Regions from separate parts of the Homo sapiens genome. Here all the other regions are linked to region 1. Evidence: promoter capture Hi-C in 16 types of primary human blood cells and fetal thymus (Javierre and others, 2016). All regions are on one chromosome and are shown on one strand. Each heading gives the region's core, a stretch centred on a gene start or on the middle of the fragment in contact. The rest is flanking DNA. Distances are from core to core; before and after follow the strand shown.

Evidence for each region. The method cuts DNA at HindIII sites, captures the fragments that hold promoters and counts their contacts. A CHiCAGO score of 5 or more calls a contact.
Region 2: a contact is called between a fragment that was not itself captured here and the fragment with the promoter of LPCAT1 in region 1, in 1 of 17 cell types (monocytes). The highest score is 7.9, in monocytes.
Region 3: a contact is called between a fragment that was not itself captured here and the fragment with the promoter of LPCAT1 in region 1, in 4 of 17 cell types (total CD8 T cells, total B cells, monocytes and 1 more). The highest score is 6.4, in total CD8 T cells.
Region 4: a contact is called between a fragment that was not itself captured here and the fragment with the promoter of LPCAT1 in region 1, in 1 of 17 cell types (neutrophils). The highest score is 7.0, in neutrophils.

Annotation. Positions count from the first base shown.
Region 1 is chr5:1,522,499-1,525,790 of GRCh38, forward strand. LPCAT1 (lysophosphatidylcholine acyltransferase 1) reads right to left here and starts at 1,462. Exons shown (of 14, transcript NM_024830.5): 1 at 1,212-1,462. The coding sequence starts at 1,346. RefSeq lists silencers at 650-849, 1,120-1,429, 1,450-1,849 and a cis regulatory region at 2,619-2,854. The HindIII fragment of the contact is 5,602 bases long and covers 1-3,292 here.
Region 2 is chr5:1,118,835-1,122,126 of GRCh38, forward strand. It overlaps a transcript of SLC12A7 not described here. Among named protein-coding and RNA genes, the nearest start is that of SLC12A7, 8.4 kb to the left of the region's middle. RefSeq lists an enhancer at 186-719. The HindIII fragment of the contact is 6,930 bases long and covers 1-3,292 here.
Region 3 is chr5:1,144,383-1,147,674 of GRCh38, forward strand. It overlaps a transcript of SLC12A7 not described here. Among named protein-coding and RNA genes, the nearest start is that of TERLR1, 33 kb to the right of the region's middle. The HindIII fragment of the contact is 9,090 bases long and covers 1-3,292 here.
Region 4 is chr5:1,805,602-1,808,893 of GRCh38, forward strand. All of the region lies in intron 2 of NDUFS6 (NADH:ubiquinone oxidoreductase subunit S6), which reads left to right. Among named protein-coding and RNA genes, the nearest start is that of NDUFS6, 5.8 kb to the left of the region's middle. The HindIII fragment of the contact is 5,373 bases long and covers 1-3,292 here.

The DNA.
Region 1 (3,292 bases), core at 212-2,711:
TGTGTGTCACCAGGAGGGGCGGCACCATCGGGCTCTCCTGCTCCCCGTCCCCTTCCATACCCTGAGGACCAGCCGCATCAAGGGGCTTTGAGCAAAAGCAGGCGTCCTGGGAAAATGACAAGCTCAAACTGGCCTCAAGAACTTTTCACTTCAGGGTTCTTTCAGATAAAGTACTTTATGCATTAACAAATCTCCATCTTCCCGGAAATCTATTCTCACAATTGGAAGCGTGCTCCCTACAAACCGGACAGCCCCATAGGCCCCGAAACAGTGCTTGCTTCTAGGAATTATTCTAGAGTCAAAAGTAAGGTCCTCTTGAGAGTGGATCTCAGGTAACTGTAAGCCCAGCTGGCAGCCAGGTAGCCGGAAAAGCCAGGCTGAGCCAGCACATCCCCGGTGCAGCTTCCTGCAGCGAGCGGCCCCCTCCCCACGACGCCCCCGGGTCTCCCCTCACCACTGTCCCATCGCAGGATCTCAGCAAACCGTTCCCTCCCACGTGGCAGCCCAGGTTGCATAAAGTTGATTCGGGTCAGACCAGCCCCGAGAAAGCATCCCTTACAACAGGAGCGAAGCATGCACCCCAGAAGGCAACGTGCGGCCGCAGAGCAGGGAGACCCGTGCGCCTACAGGGGACCCTACAGGGGACCCGCACCGCCCGCGCGCCCTGTCCCGGGCACCACCAGGCCCCGCACACGAGGCTCACCCAGAGCCGCGGTGCCCTCCCGCCCGCGGGCCGCGTCCAGGCAAAGCCGCTCCGGAGTCCCCGGGCTGCGCGCAGGGCCTGCCAAGGCGGGCGGGGCCCGGACCAGGGACGAGCGCGGGGACCGGCGATGCGGGTCCAGCCTCCCGCGGGAGCCGAGGTCGGGGCTCTGGGAGGCAGAGAAAGGGTTGTGGGCCCGGTTCAGGGTGCAGGGGTCTGGGGGGAGGAGCAGAACGCGGGGCGGGGATGGGAAGCGGGGACCCCGAGGAAGGCGCTGAGGGACCAGGATGCGCGTGCGGGCGGCGGGAAGCCGGCGCCGAGACCGAGGCATCGGGTGCGGGCGGCGGGGACGCGAACTGAGGGGCGGCCGCGGGGAGGGAAGGCGCCGCGGCTCGCAGGGCCGCGCCGCGCCCCAGGCCCCCTCCCCGGCCCCTCCTCGGCCGCGCCTCCCTGGCCCCAGCATCCCTGGCGTCCGCGCCGGCTCCCGGGGCCGCGCGCCCTGGGCACCCACCTGGGCCTTCTGCAGGGCGCTGAGGCGCAGCTCGTGCACGAAGGGGTTCCGCCCCGGGGGCGCCAGCAGCCGAGCGTCGCTGGCCCCTGCGCTGGAGGCAGGGGCGGCCCGGGGTCCGCATCCCCGCAGCCTCATGGCCGCGCCGTCCCGCGGCGAGCGCAGCCGAGCTGCCTGGGGCGCCGAGCGGGGCCGGGGCTAGCTGGGCGCGGGTCTCGGGGCGCGGGCCGAGGATGCGCGGCGGCTGGAGCGGGCCGGGCGCGCAGGCGCGGGAGGTGACGTGGGCGGAGCGGGAGCGCCGGCCGGGGCGGGGCGTCCCTGGAAGCCTCGCCTCCCGCCGGCCGGCAGGGGCGGCACCAGCCGGAGTTCCGCTACCTGGTGGTTTCTCTGGGGTCTGTGGGGGGCCGGGGCCGCTGGGGACCGGGGGCGCCTCCTGCAGCCACTGGAGCACAGGGATCCCCGGCAGGGTCTGCGCCAGGAGAAAGGGAGGTCCCCCGGGCCCGCGAGGCTGCCACGTCGTCCCCTTCCGCCGCTCGGCCCGCCTGCTCGCGGGGAGGGAGGAAGGGGCGGGCACGCGTCCAGCTTACGCGCAAGGCGGGCCAGGCCCTGGGTGCCGAGCCCCGGGCTGTTCCGGCGAAGGCCCCACGCCATTCTTCTTATTCGTTGGGCTCCTAGCTCGCACCGGCGACCCTGGAAGCTGCCCCGGGCTGAGGGAGCTTCTTCCAGCCGCGCCTCAGCCCAGGCGACTCCCGCCTGAGGTCCACTCGACCTTAGGACCCCCCAGACCTCGGGATCCCCTCAGATCTCAGGACCCCTCAAGCCTCAGGACCCCCTCAGACCTCAGGACCCCTCCGATCTCAGGACCTCTCAGGCCTCAGGCCCCGCAGGGATGGCCCAGGCAGGAGGCGCACATAGGGGCCCTGACTGTCCGTGCTGGTTGTGCAGGGGCTGCGATGAGATCCCAGCGCTTTCTCACCCGTAGCTGCTTTGGCTCGGGCATTGCCCTTGTGGTGCTCAGGAGCCGTGTGAGGAGCCCCAGGGTGGGGCCCATAATTAGCCGGAGCGAGAGTAGGATGGGCTCCTGCCTCCGGGTGAACACGCTTGGATTTCAGAACTCACGCAGGCCTTCGGTCACAGTGCTCACGGCTTCCTCACCCCGGCTGGCCCTGTTGGTTCCTTCATGGCCAACGGACCTCACCCAGACAGAGCCGGTTTGGGCCACCTGGCCAACCCCCCAGGGTCCTGGCTCCTGGGGATGTCACTGCTGTGTTGGCCCCAGCTGGGCCCCATCCTCAGCAGACGCCAGGGAGTGCCCCGACCCCTCCAATGACCCTGCCTGCGCCCTTGTGGACCTCATAGTGCAGCGGGCTGGCAGAGACCCTTCTGTGTCTGAGACCGGGGTGAGGGCCAGGGGTCTGTGCCATCCACATATCATGCACAGAGAAGGCCCCGGCAGGCCAGACCCGCTGCATGGCCTTATTCCTGCCCCATAAGAGTCCCAGCCCATATTCCTGCCCCATAAGAGTCCCAGCCCATGCCTAGCAGCAGCACCTGTCCCAAGTGCCACACCCACGGGGATGGGGTGAGCCCTGTGTGCTGGTGGGCATTGGTGGCTCTGTGGCCCAGCCACCAGCGTTGCACCCACCTCCTGGGCTTTTAGTGGCCACTTGCTCTGATCCCCAAAACCAGAGCCCAGCACCCGAGGCCACCCAAGGCTCCTCACCGAACTGATCATCAAGAAAGCCCAGGACACAAAGCCTGCCAGCCACAGGGCAGCACCTGCACCCCAGCGATCCAGGCGGCCCCACCTGCTGCCTGAGTGCTCTGGAGAGGAGGGGCCCTAGGGTGTCCCAGTCCTGGGATGAGAGCAGCCTCAGGACTGGACTTGGAGAGCCATGAAAGTGGGGTCCTCCCAGAAGCACAGGCCAGGAAGCGGTGTGTGGCGGAGGGGAAACCTGCTGGAGATGGTGCAGAGCCAGATTCAATGGGGAGAGCTGCCAGAGAGTCATGGCTGTGTCCCCAGAAGATGCAAAAGTCCTAACCCACAGCACCTGTGGCCGCGACCTTATTTGGAAACAGGGTCT
Region 2 (3,292 bases), core at 224-2,723, 400 kb before region 1:
TTCTTCCAAGGCTGTGGGAGGTGTGGGCGTGTCTCGCTGAACTTCTGGGCCGGCTGGCGGGAGAGGCAGAGCTGGCGCTGACATCAGCCTCCCGGCGGGAGGGGCTCACAACCCACACTGAGCACCCAGAGCCAGACCTCCCCAGAGGAATGTTCTGGGGGAGAGGGAGGGGCACAGACGACTGCTCCCGAAAGGAGGGCCCTGCCTCGTTTTGTGGCCCCGCATCTGGTGTGCTCACCCTCAGTCTGCAGCAGCTCGAAGCCCTCCTGATGAGAGCCGACACAGGCAGGGGCCAGAGTCGCTTTTGCAGCGCTGGAAGGCTGAGTTCTGCCATCAGCTTTGCATTTTACAGCTTTCTGCTGGGATCAGAGAAGCACCTGCACAACCTCCCCTGCGTTTTCTAAACATTCAGCTGGGAACCTGGACTGCAAAGCCCGGCCTCAGTTACCGCCACTTTTTCCCAGAGCCCTTTTGGGGTGAGTTTTCTGGACTTGCTCATCAGGGCCAGCACTCGTTAAAGGTGAGGACCCCGTGATCCCACCCCGCACAGCAGTACCCAGACACCCGCTAGGGCCCCAGCTCCCAGGGGACGCCGCAGGCACGCACACATCCCTGCCCGGGTGACGCCGAGGTTACACAAGCCCTTTGGAAAGCTCTGGTGCTGCCTTGGCTGCACCATGACCCCCTCCAGCTGTGTGCGGCCGGCTCGCCGCCCATGGTGCTGTGGTCCTGGTTGGGCGGTGAGGTTCAGCCCTGACCGTCGGGCAGCGACCGTTTCAGGAAGCACGGGAACAACGGACTTTGAGCCACCTTCCTCTCCCCAGCACCCTTTCAGCCACCCCGTGCCAGGCTCCCCACCCACACAGCCCCATCCCAGGCACGCGGTGGCTCTGGAGGGCTGCATGTCAGGGTGCAGACCAGAACACGCCCGATTCCTTCCAGGCAATGGACAAATGGGGTCCACCGGCGCTGTCCTGTGATGGGCAGGCTGGGGGGCGGTGCCCAGCTTTGGGCCCTGTAGCCTCAGGCCTCCCCTCAGGCCACCTGCCCCCTGTGGCTGCTTCTGCCTCCCCGCAAAAATCCAGTCTGAGCTGGCTGAAGGCGCACAGGTGTCACCATGGCCCAGGCAGCTGGGACCCCCCCATAGGTCAACAGCCTGTCATTGGGGTCACTCAAGGGCCTTTCTGCCCAGCTGGCAGGGCCTGACCAGGTCCCCTGAATTTCACCCCCAGAGTGCAGTGGATCCCCCTGGGGCTGAGGGGACCCTCCACGGCCCCAAAGCCAGAGAGCACAGATTGACACTCAGAATCATGGCTGCAGACCCTGCCACAGCCCCAAACATGCTCTTCATAAGAGAAAGGCTGACAAAGTGGTCTTCACTAAAATGACACACTTCTCTTTCTCAGAAGACGCTCTCAAGGGCAGGGGAGCAAGCCCGGGTGCAGCTGGGTGGGCACCTGCCGTCCACAGGGCCCCCCCACCGGCAGTGTCCGGATCACACGAAGACGGCTTACAGACCAGCAAGGAAACGCTGAACCCGGAGGACAAGAGGGCAAAGACTTGAACTAACATGGAGGAGCACGTGGAGATGCCACCTCGCCGGGGGACGCGCGCCGTCGGCAGTGTGCCGGGGACACCACGGTGTGCTGGCCAGATGCTCACAGCCGCTGTACCTCCCCACACAACTGGAGGTCCGTGGAATGCACGGCCACTGTGGAAAACTCCAGACACGCCTCCATCACCACCCAGAAACCCCACTCTCAACAGAAACACACAGACACTAAGCAAAAGACACACAAAGGCCTTCCTGGGAGCCCAGACTGGACACAGCCCACATTCCCATCAGCAGGGCAGTGGGCGACGGGCCACAGATGGCGTGTCCCTTCAGGGAGTGTCTACCACACACGCCAGGGATGATCTCGCACGTGGGCTGCAGGGCAGGAGGAGGTCGGCATGATGCTGTCTACGTGAAGCTCAAGGGCAGGCAGGACTCACCCTGGGGTGCACACCAGCACAGACGGCAGTCCCTGTGCAGCAGAGACGGCTTCCAGGGCTTGGAACGGCCACGCTTCGACGCGAAGGGCTCCTGGGCCTGCCCGAGCTCGGAGCTCACCCGGCAAAGATTTAAGATGTGTGCTGCTCCCTGGGTGCCAGCTGCACCTCACTCAGAGGAAATAAGAGTGGCTCAGAGCATGTGCTGCACGGTAGACTCGGTGCATCCTGACCTTGACACTGAGTCCACCCAACCCTCCTGCTGCCCGCCACCGTTCCCCAAGCTGCCTCCTGCACGTCCCCGCATCCCTCATCTTGCAGGCAGTGGGACAGCTGGGCTGTTTCTGTCACATTCTCTGTGAAGAAGAGTCCAGGCCAGCAAATATTTATCACCAAGTGTCTGGCCAGTGTGGTCCCCAGACACAGCTGTCTCCGTCCCAAGGCCTGGACTTTACACGTGGAGTTCCCTGTGTCGGTCCCCAGACAGCAGTGGTGCCACCTGGCAGGGGTTTGGCCTGTGGAGGGCTGTGCCCCTGAGGCCCACGGGAAAGCTCATGGACTTGCTGGGGGGCAGGGCCGACATCAGCGCCCGTGTGCGGATCCCCCTGCAGCCGAGTCCCAAGCAGGATCGTCACCCTCACATTCCTCTCCGGTGGAATGCTGCTGAGAGGTCCTTTAAGCATATGGCCTCAAGTAATCGTGGAAAGAGAAGGCAGCGGCATTGGTGGGCACAGGAAGGATCCATGCCACTTTGTGGGACCCAGAGAGGCAGTGTGACCTCAAGGGCTTACAGCCAGTGAGTGGCAGGCAGGGACAAGGGGGAGTTCCAGAAGCCTTAGGACATTCCTTGTCCCATGGATGACTGGAAGGACCCTTCCCAGATGGGAATCCCCTGCCCGCCCCAGCCATGCCCAGCACTGAGGGGTGAACCCTGGAAGCACCCATGGGTCAGCCCCGGAGCCGCGCAGTTTCTCCTAGGAAGGGGTAACTGTGCCCCAGACTCAGGAGGGGCTGTCCTGTCTTCCTGCAGGCCTTGGAGGCCACTGTCCCTGATGGGGTTGTGCAAGTGTGGGGGGCATGAGAGGGGGCCCCTTCATCAGCTCAGCGCCCACCCTAGGCCTGCTTCATGCCAGGCACACACTGCGCTGCAGGCACGAAGCGGGGATGGGTTCCCTGAGGCGGGGCTCTGCCTACTCCCAGACCCTTGTGGAGGCCCTGTCTCCCAGCCTCTCTGCCTTGTGCCCCGGGCCCACGGCAACGCAGCCCCCATTCCAGAGAGCCAGACCCTCCAGCTCTCAAG
Region 3 (3,292 bases), core at 527-3,026, 380 kb before region 1:
GAGAGTCAGGGTTTTCACTCCAGCTTTAAACCAGTTGCTCCCAGGCCGCCGCCACTGCCCCCACCCACCTGTTCTTGGTCCCAGCATCATCATGACAATTTGGGGGCAGGAATTCAACTGTGGAACGGGAGGAGCCCTCAGCTCCGGGTCACGCTGGGTGGAGGGCACGGTGAGGTCACGCTGGGTCATGGTGAGCTGGTGAGGCAGGCAGCCTGGTGGGCACCCGCCTTGAAAATGACCCCTCAAACCAGCGGACCGCACCACACTTTACAATTGAGTACAGCTATTTATCCATTAACACCTGTACCACTTCCAGACCAACAGATCACCAGGCTGCAGTGGGGACATGTGAGAAAATTACAGGCAAGGAAGCAAAGACTAGAACCAGGTGTGTCTCTGAGTTCCAGCCCTGCTGAAATGCCCGTCTGAATAAACAGGGGCCACTGCCATCCCGGCTGCGCATGCACAGGCCTCCGAGCGGCAGAAAGCAGGGATGACACCAATGTGGCTTTAAACCAGTGTTCAATTCCCATGGCTGATTCGGAACGTCCTGAGGCAAAACGTGAAGTTTACTGCATCCGAGGAAGGAAGTGCAGCACCCACAGCAGCAGCCAGCACCACTGGACCAACCGGGCCGGGGCTGGGGAAGGAGCATGTGCTGTCGGCACGGCCAGGCCGGGCCTGGAGGGCTGGAGAGAGCCTGCGTGGGACAGCAGCTGGAGGCCGCAGGGGGCCCAGGGATCACCCCTTCTTCAAAGGGAACCTGGCCGAGAACTCGGCCCTCACACTTGGGTGTGGGGTCTCTGGAGACAGGACAGTGAGTGGCCACAAGGGCCAGGCAGGGGCCGCTGCCAGTGGGCCTGGAAGACCAGCGAGGGCTCATGTCCATCACACGGTCTGTGCAGTAAATGATGGCCGGTTCCGCAGACCCCCTCCCTGTGGGGACACAGCTGCTGGGGTGGTCACCCCTCCCCCTAATTCCCAGCTGAGGTGCCCCTGCAGAAGCCCCGAGTGCCCAGCGGGGTAATTGCGGCCAGGTGCTTGCTCTTGGAGCACTGAGGAGCCATCGGAGGCTGCAGGCTGCCTAGCGGCCAGGCTTGCTGCCCCTTCCTGGAATCTGCCCACAGGAAGTCAGAGGCTGCCAGCCCCTTCACTGACCTTTCCAGGACCAGCCAGGAAGGGCTCACAAAGGATGTTATTTGAAACAGGAAGGTCCCTGGACAAAAATATCTCTTCCAAGAGGCCTGAAAGAGCACCTTGCAGAGAGTAATTTAGATTAAACAGGACCCCCTCCCTGGAGAGCCTGCCTAGGTGTGAATTGATTTAATCAAACTGGCCTCCTCTCAGAAAACTAGAGGCCAGGATCAAGCGCCTCTGTCCTCTGCAGAAGGAAGGGGCTGGGGGTGCGGGAGGGTTTAGTTTATCTCTAGGCCCCTACTGTCTGCTTGCATTTTCTTTTTGGTATTTTTTGTATTGTGATAAAATACACATAACATTTTACCATTTTTACCATTTTTGGGTGAGCAGTTCAGTGGCATTAAATGCAGTCACAATGCTGTAAAACCATCACCGCCATCCTTCTCCAGAACTTCCTTTGCAAAACTGCAGCTCTGCACCCATTAAACTGACTCCCATTCCCCTCCCCCAGCCCCTGGCAGTCCCCGTTCTGCCTCCGTCTCCCAGAATTTGACAACTCCAGGCTCTGCCTGCAACTGTTATTCTGCAGGATTGACCTTTCTGTGTCTGGCTGCCCCATCCCTCCTCATTCCCAAAGGCTCTCCCTGGAACCTGCTCCCAGCAGGAGGGGCCATTCCCTGGTCACCCACCTTCTTGAGGCTCCTCTGGGAGAGTCTCCAGGTCTGTGATGAGACCTCAGGGACCTGCCAGCAGGTGGGCTTTTGGAGTGGAGTTGTGGGAGCCCAGATGCTGGTGACCCCTGGAGGTGACCACCTGGGCCAGTGACCACGGACCTCCAGGCCTGGGTCCCTCTGACCTGGCCGTGGAATGAAGCCTGGGGTGCCTGCATGTGGGTGGGAGCAGTGGTGGCCTGCTGAGAGGTGTTCAAAGCCATCTCTGCAGTGTAAACAAAAAATAAAATTCTAAGGCTCCTCCCCGACCGTCTGGATGGACCCCTCCTCTGGGCCAGGACACCCCAACGTTAACCAGAAAGACTGCTTCAGGCCACGACGGGAAGCGGTGGTCGGCCATGCCTCATGCCGCCCTCCTCCCTTTCGGAATTTAGGAAAAGCCGACCAGCAGTAACATCAACACAGACCTTAAGTCTGGTAAGAAACACCATACAATCTCTTCTCTCTGGAGCCTGCTACCTGGAGGCTTCACCTGCATGATGAAACCTTGGCCTCCACAGCCCCTTACCCTAACCCAGACAATCCTTTCTATTGATAGTAACTCCCAAACAATTGCCAATCAGAACATTTTTAAATCTACCTATGACCTGGAAGCCCCACTTGGAGCTGTCCCGCCTTTCTGGACCTGACCAATGTATATCTTAAATGTCTCATGCCCGCCTGAACTAAGGCCCAGCTGCACCCGCCCACCTCCCGAGGGCCGTGTCACTGCACAGTCACTCTGTGTGGCTCAGAATCAATCTCTTCAAATATTTCACAGACTTTCGCTCTTTTCATCGACAGGCTTATTTCGTTCACACAATGTCCTCAGCCTCCATCCATGTGGCAGTGTGTGTCTGAATTTCCTTTCTTTTGTAAACTAAAAACAAAATCCAAAGTCCCACAGACAAATGAACGGAACACCCCTCTTGGACAAGGGGACCCAGGGCAACAGGAAACACTAAATTCCCACGGTGACAGAAGGGAGGAGGGACTCTCCTCATCACGGCCCACCCCGCCACCCCCCCCGCCCCCGCCTTTAGGAGTTCAGGTGCAGCTGACCCACACTAACTCCAAAATAGTTATCCAAAGACGGCAGAACAGACTCTGTGGCGGTAAGACCCCAAATCCAGCCTGACCCTGGTATAGAGACCCACCGAGAGTCCCTCCGACCCGGAGAGACCCGCCGAGGGTCCCACACCCGGAGAGACCCGCCAGGAGTCCCCACACATTTGAAGGCCCTGCCTGCCCTCTGTCCTCTCGGGGCCGCCTCCTGGAGGCTTCTACGTCACCAGCACCTTGGTCTCCACAGCCCCTCAGCTGAAGCCAAGTGATTCTTTCCACCCACTGCAAGCCTTCACGTCTTCAGCTTAACTCTTTCACCCAAATACTAATCAGAAAACATTTAAATCTCTCTGCTCCCCTTCAAGATGTCCCTCATTTCC
Region 4 (3,292 bases), core at 443-2,942, 280 kb after region 1:
CACTCTGGGGCCACATAAGTCAGATGGGGGACTGGAACAAACTTGGAAGTGACCAGGTATTTCTCTGCTGTTGATGGAAATATTTTCATTGCTTTATAGTCGTACAAGTAAAATTAAAAGCAGATATGACTTGTCCCCTAATAGAAGGGATGACTGGGGGAGGTCTGCAGTGAGGTGTGGTAATAATAACAGCAATAACAACAGCCTGGTAGCCAGGTACTTGGCGACATCATTTGCTTTTTTGGTTAGTAGCTGGGGCTGCCCTGCCTGGCCGCATCCGGATTCAGGCTCCTGCGCTGATGGGCTTATGAGGGCTGTGTGCTTCAGTGACTTAGCTTGTAGGCTCGTGGGCACTGAGTCCGTGTAGATGAGGAAAGGCTTGGAGCAGCGCCTGTCCCAGGGAAGCCTCTAGTGTGTGTTCGCCTTACTCTGCTGCTGCCTTCGCCACCACCATGAGGGCAGGCTTCACTTTTAGATTTTTTTAAAATACTGAAGTTAAACGTTAGTGTCTATACACAAGGTCTTTACTTTTAGTTTTTGAAAAGAAGGAATTAGGCAGCAAACCCGGAACATCAGGAGGCTGGGATCCCTTGAGTGCGACTCTGTGCCACCCCTCTCCACCTGTGTGTGTCAGGATCACGGAACAGCTGGGGGCTTCAGCTTGTGCCTTCATCTGCCCGCCAGTGGGATGGATTCTCTCCTCAGATGCTCGGCAGGGCGGAGTCACTCCCTGACCCGCACAGCCCACAGCTGGGCGTTTGGGTCAGCGAGATTCTGCACGTTTTCTGAGACACCTAGGCTGGCAGGGTTGAGTCCAGTTGTGACCCTGTGGCCTCACCTGCCTGGCCCTCAGTTCTTCAGTAGCAGACTTCAAGGTGCGTGGTGCCACCAGGATTAGGAGCAGTTGCACGCGGTGCAAATGTCTACCTGGCGTGCTGTTTTGTTGCGATAATGTGAAGTTTTATCCTTCTGAGAAGAGTGTGTAGATTTCGTTAATGGAAATAATTGAGTAGTGCTCACGAGAGAGGAAAACTACCAAGACCCTCCAAACAGAAAACAAGCGTGGGTGACGGCGTGGAGCAACTGAAACTTTGTGCCTTGCTGCTGGGAATGTAAAATGGCACAGCCGTGAAGGAAAACAGCGTGTGGGTTCCTCAAAAAGTTGAAACTAGGACTTCCATCCAATCCAGCGGTTCCACTTCTGAGCGTGTGCCCAAAAGAACTGAAAGCGGGGTCCGGGGTACACTCGTGTCATAGCAGCATTATTCATTATAACTCAAATCTGGAAGCAGTTTGGGGGTCCATTGTCAGCTGAACGGATAAGCAAAATGTGATCTGTCCATGGACAGTGGAATATTATTCAGCCTTAAGGAAGAACGCTTGACACGCCCCACAACACGGATAAGCCTGGAGGACGTTGCGCTCAGTGAAGTGAGCCAGTCACAGAAGCAGACTGCGTGATTCCTCTAACACGAGGGACCAGAACAGTCGCTTCTTAGAAGTACTGTATGAGGTACTCAGAGGTACTGCGTGAGGTACTCAGAGGTACTGCGTGAGGTACTCAGAGGTACTGCGTGAGGTACTCAGAGGTACTGTGTGAACACTGTGTGATTCCTCTGATACGGGGGACCAGAACAGTCGCTTCTTAGAGGTAGCAAGTAGTTGGTGGTTGCCGGGGGCGGGGGGTGAATTTGGAGTTAGTGTTGAATGGAAATGGAGTTTCAGTTTACGAAGGTGGAAGGTTCTGGAGATGGGTGGTGGTGATGGTTGCACAATAATGTGAATATACGTGGTGTCCTTAGAAATGGTAAAGATGGCAAGTTTTATGTTATGTGTATTTTACCACAATTAAAAAAAAATTAAGAGGGAAGTGGCTTCAGGCCCACGCAGGAATTGACCAGAGGTTCCTCCCTGAGGCTTCTGTGGCTGGTGTCGCTCATTCTTATTTCTCCCAAGAGGCCGGCAGGGCAGGGCACACTCGGGTGGGGAAGCAAGTGAGGCTGAGGCTGGGCCCACGCGGCACCTCCAGAGGCTCTGCACACCCGTGGTGGTAACTTGTGTTATCACCCAGGACAAGCGCACTCCTCGGATCAGCAGTGGAAGAAACTTGTGACATCTTTCGTCTACATTGAGCCATCTCTTGAGGCCAGCGCAGCACCACCCGAACCATGTTGGCTCTCGTGCGTGCACACACACACTGTTGGTCACAGGAGGGATGCCACCAGAGAGCTGAGAGGGAGTGCTGAGGTACCCAGGGGTCAGTAGCTGCAGGAAGCAGCCACTATTCCTAGGACTTGGGGGGCAGGAGGAAGAGGTGGCGTCACCAGGAGGGAGCTGTGAAAGTGCCCTTGTGGTGCCGCTGGAGCTCCAGGTGGGAGACAGGACTGGGAGTCGGGGATGGGTGCTAGGGTGAGGCCCCCAGCCAGACAGTGGTGGCTGAGAAGGTCCTCCGTGAGAGGAAGATTGAATTGAGGGGCCTCGGAATTCCACCCTCCGCCTTTGCAGGTCATCTGGTTGGTGGCAGAGGTGGAGCTCTGTGCTTGCTTCCAGGTTCATCCTTAGAGGGTTTAAGAGGGGAGGTTTGCCTGAGTCTCTCTTGTCTTGAAGCAACCTGGGCGTCCTTTAGGGGGTGTTTGAGACGCGGGCGGTGCGATGTGCGCCATGGCTGCTCTCCAGAGCTTTTGTGTGGCTTCCCGCTTCTGCATGCTCCTCCTCCTGAGCTTCCCTCCCAAATACGCCATCTTTATAGTGGAGTGAAGGCAATCGGATTTTAAAAGAAATCTTCTGGATGGATAAGAACCGTGGGTCTTTGCTTCCTTTAGAAAGGCTTGGACTGTCAGAAATAATGGTTATAAAGTGAGGTTTATTTATCCCAGGACCCAGAGGAAAATAGTTGGAACTGTGAATTCACGAGCCCCAGGTTCACATGCTGGTGGCTTTGTTTGTGAGCTGGCGAGATGGGCTTTATTTCCTCCCTCATGCAGCTCCCCAGCTTCGTCTTTGCTTCTCTATTGTGTCTTTGTGTCTTGTGGTTCTTTCTCTTCCAAGGCACTGGCAAAATTAGTCACTGGATTCCAACATTCTCAAAGCAAGTTTGAACATGTTGTACAGACAGCTCAATTGTGGTTTTTAGAGCATTTTCTATAAAGTTACTTAGTTTAAAAATTAATTTGAATGAAAACTTCAGTTTTGCCTGTGATTTAAGAATTATATACTTATATAGACATGTATACACACGTTTAGCTTAAATAATTATTGGCATTCATGTTCAGAATGCCTGATGTTCTAAATA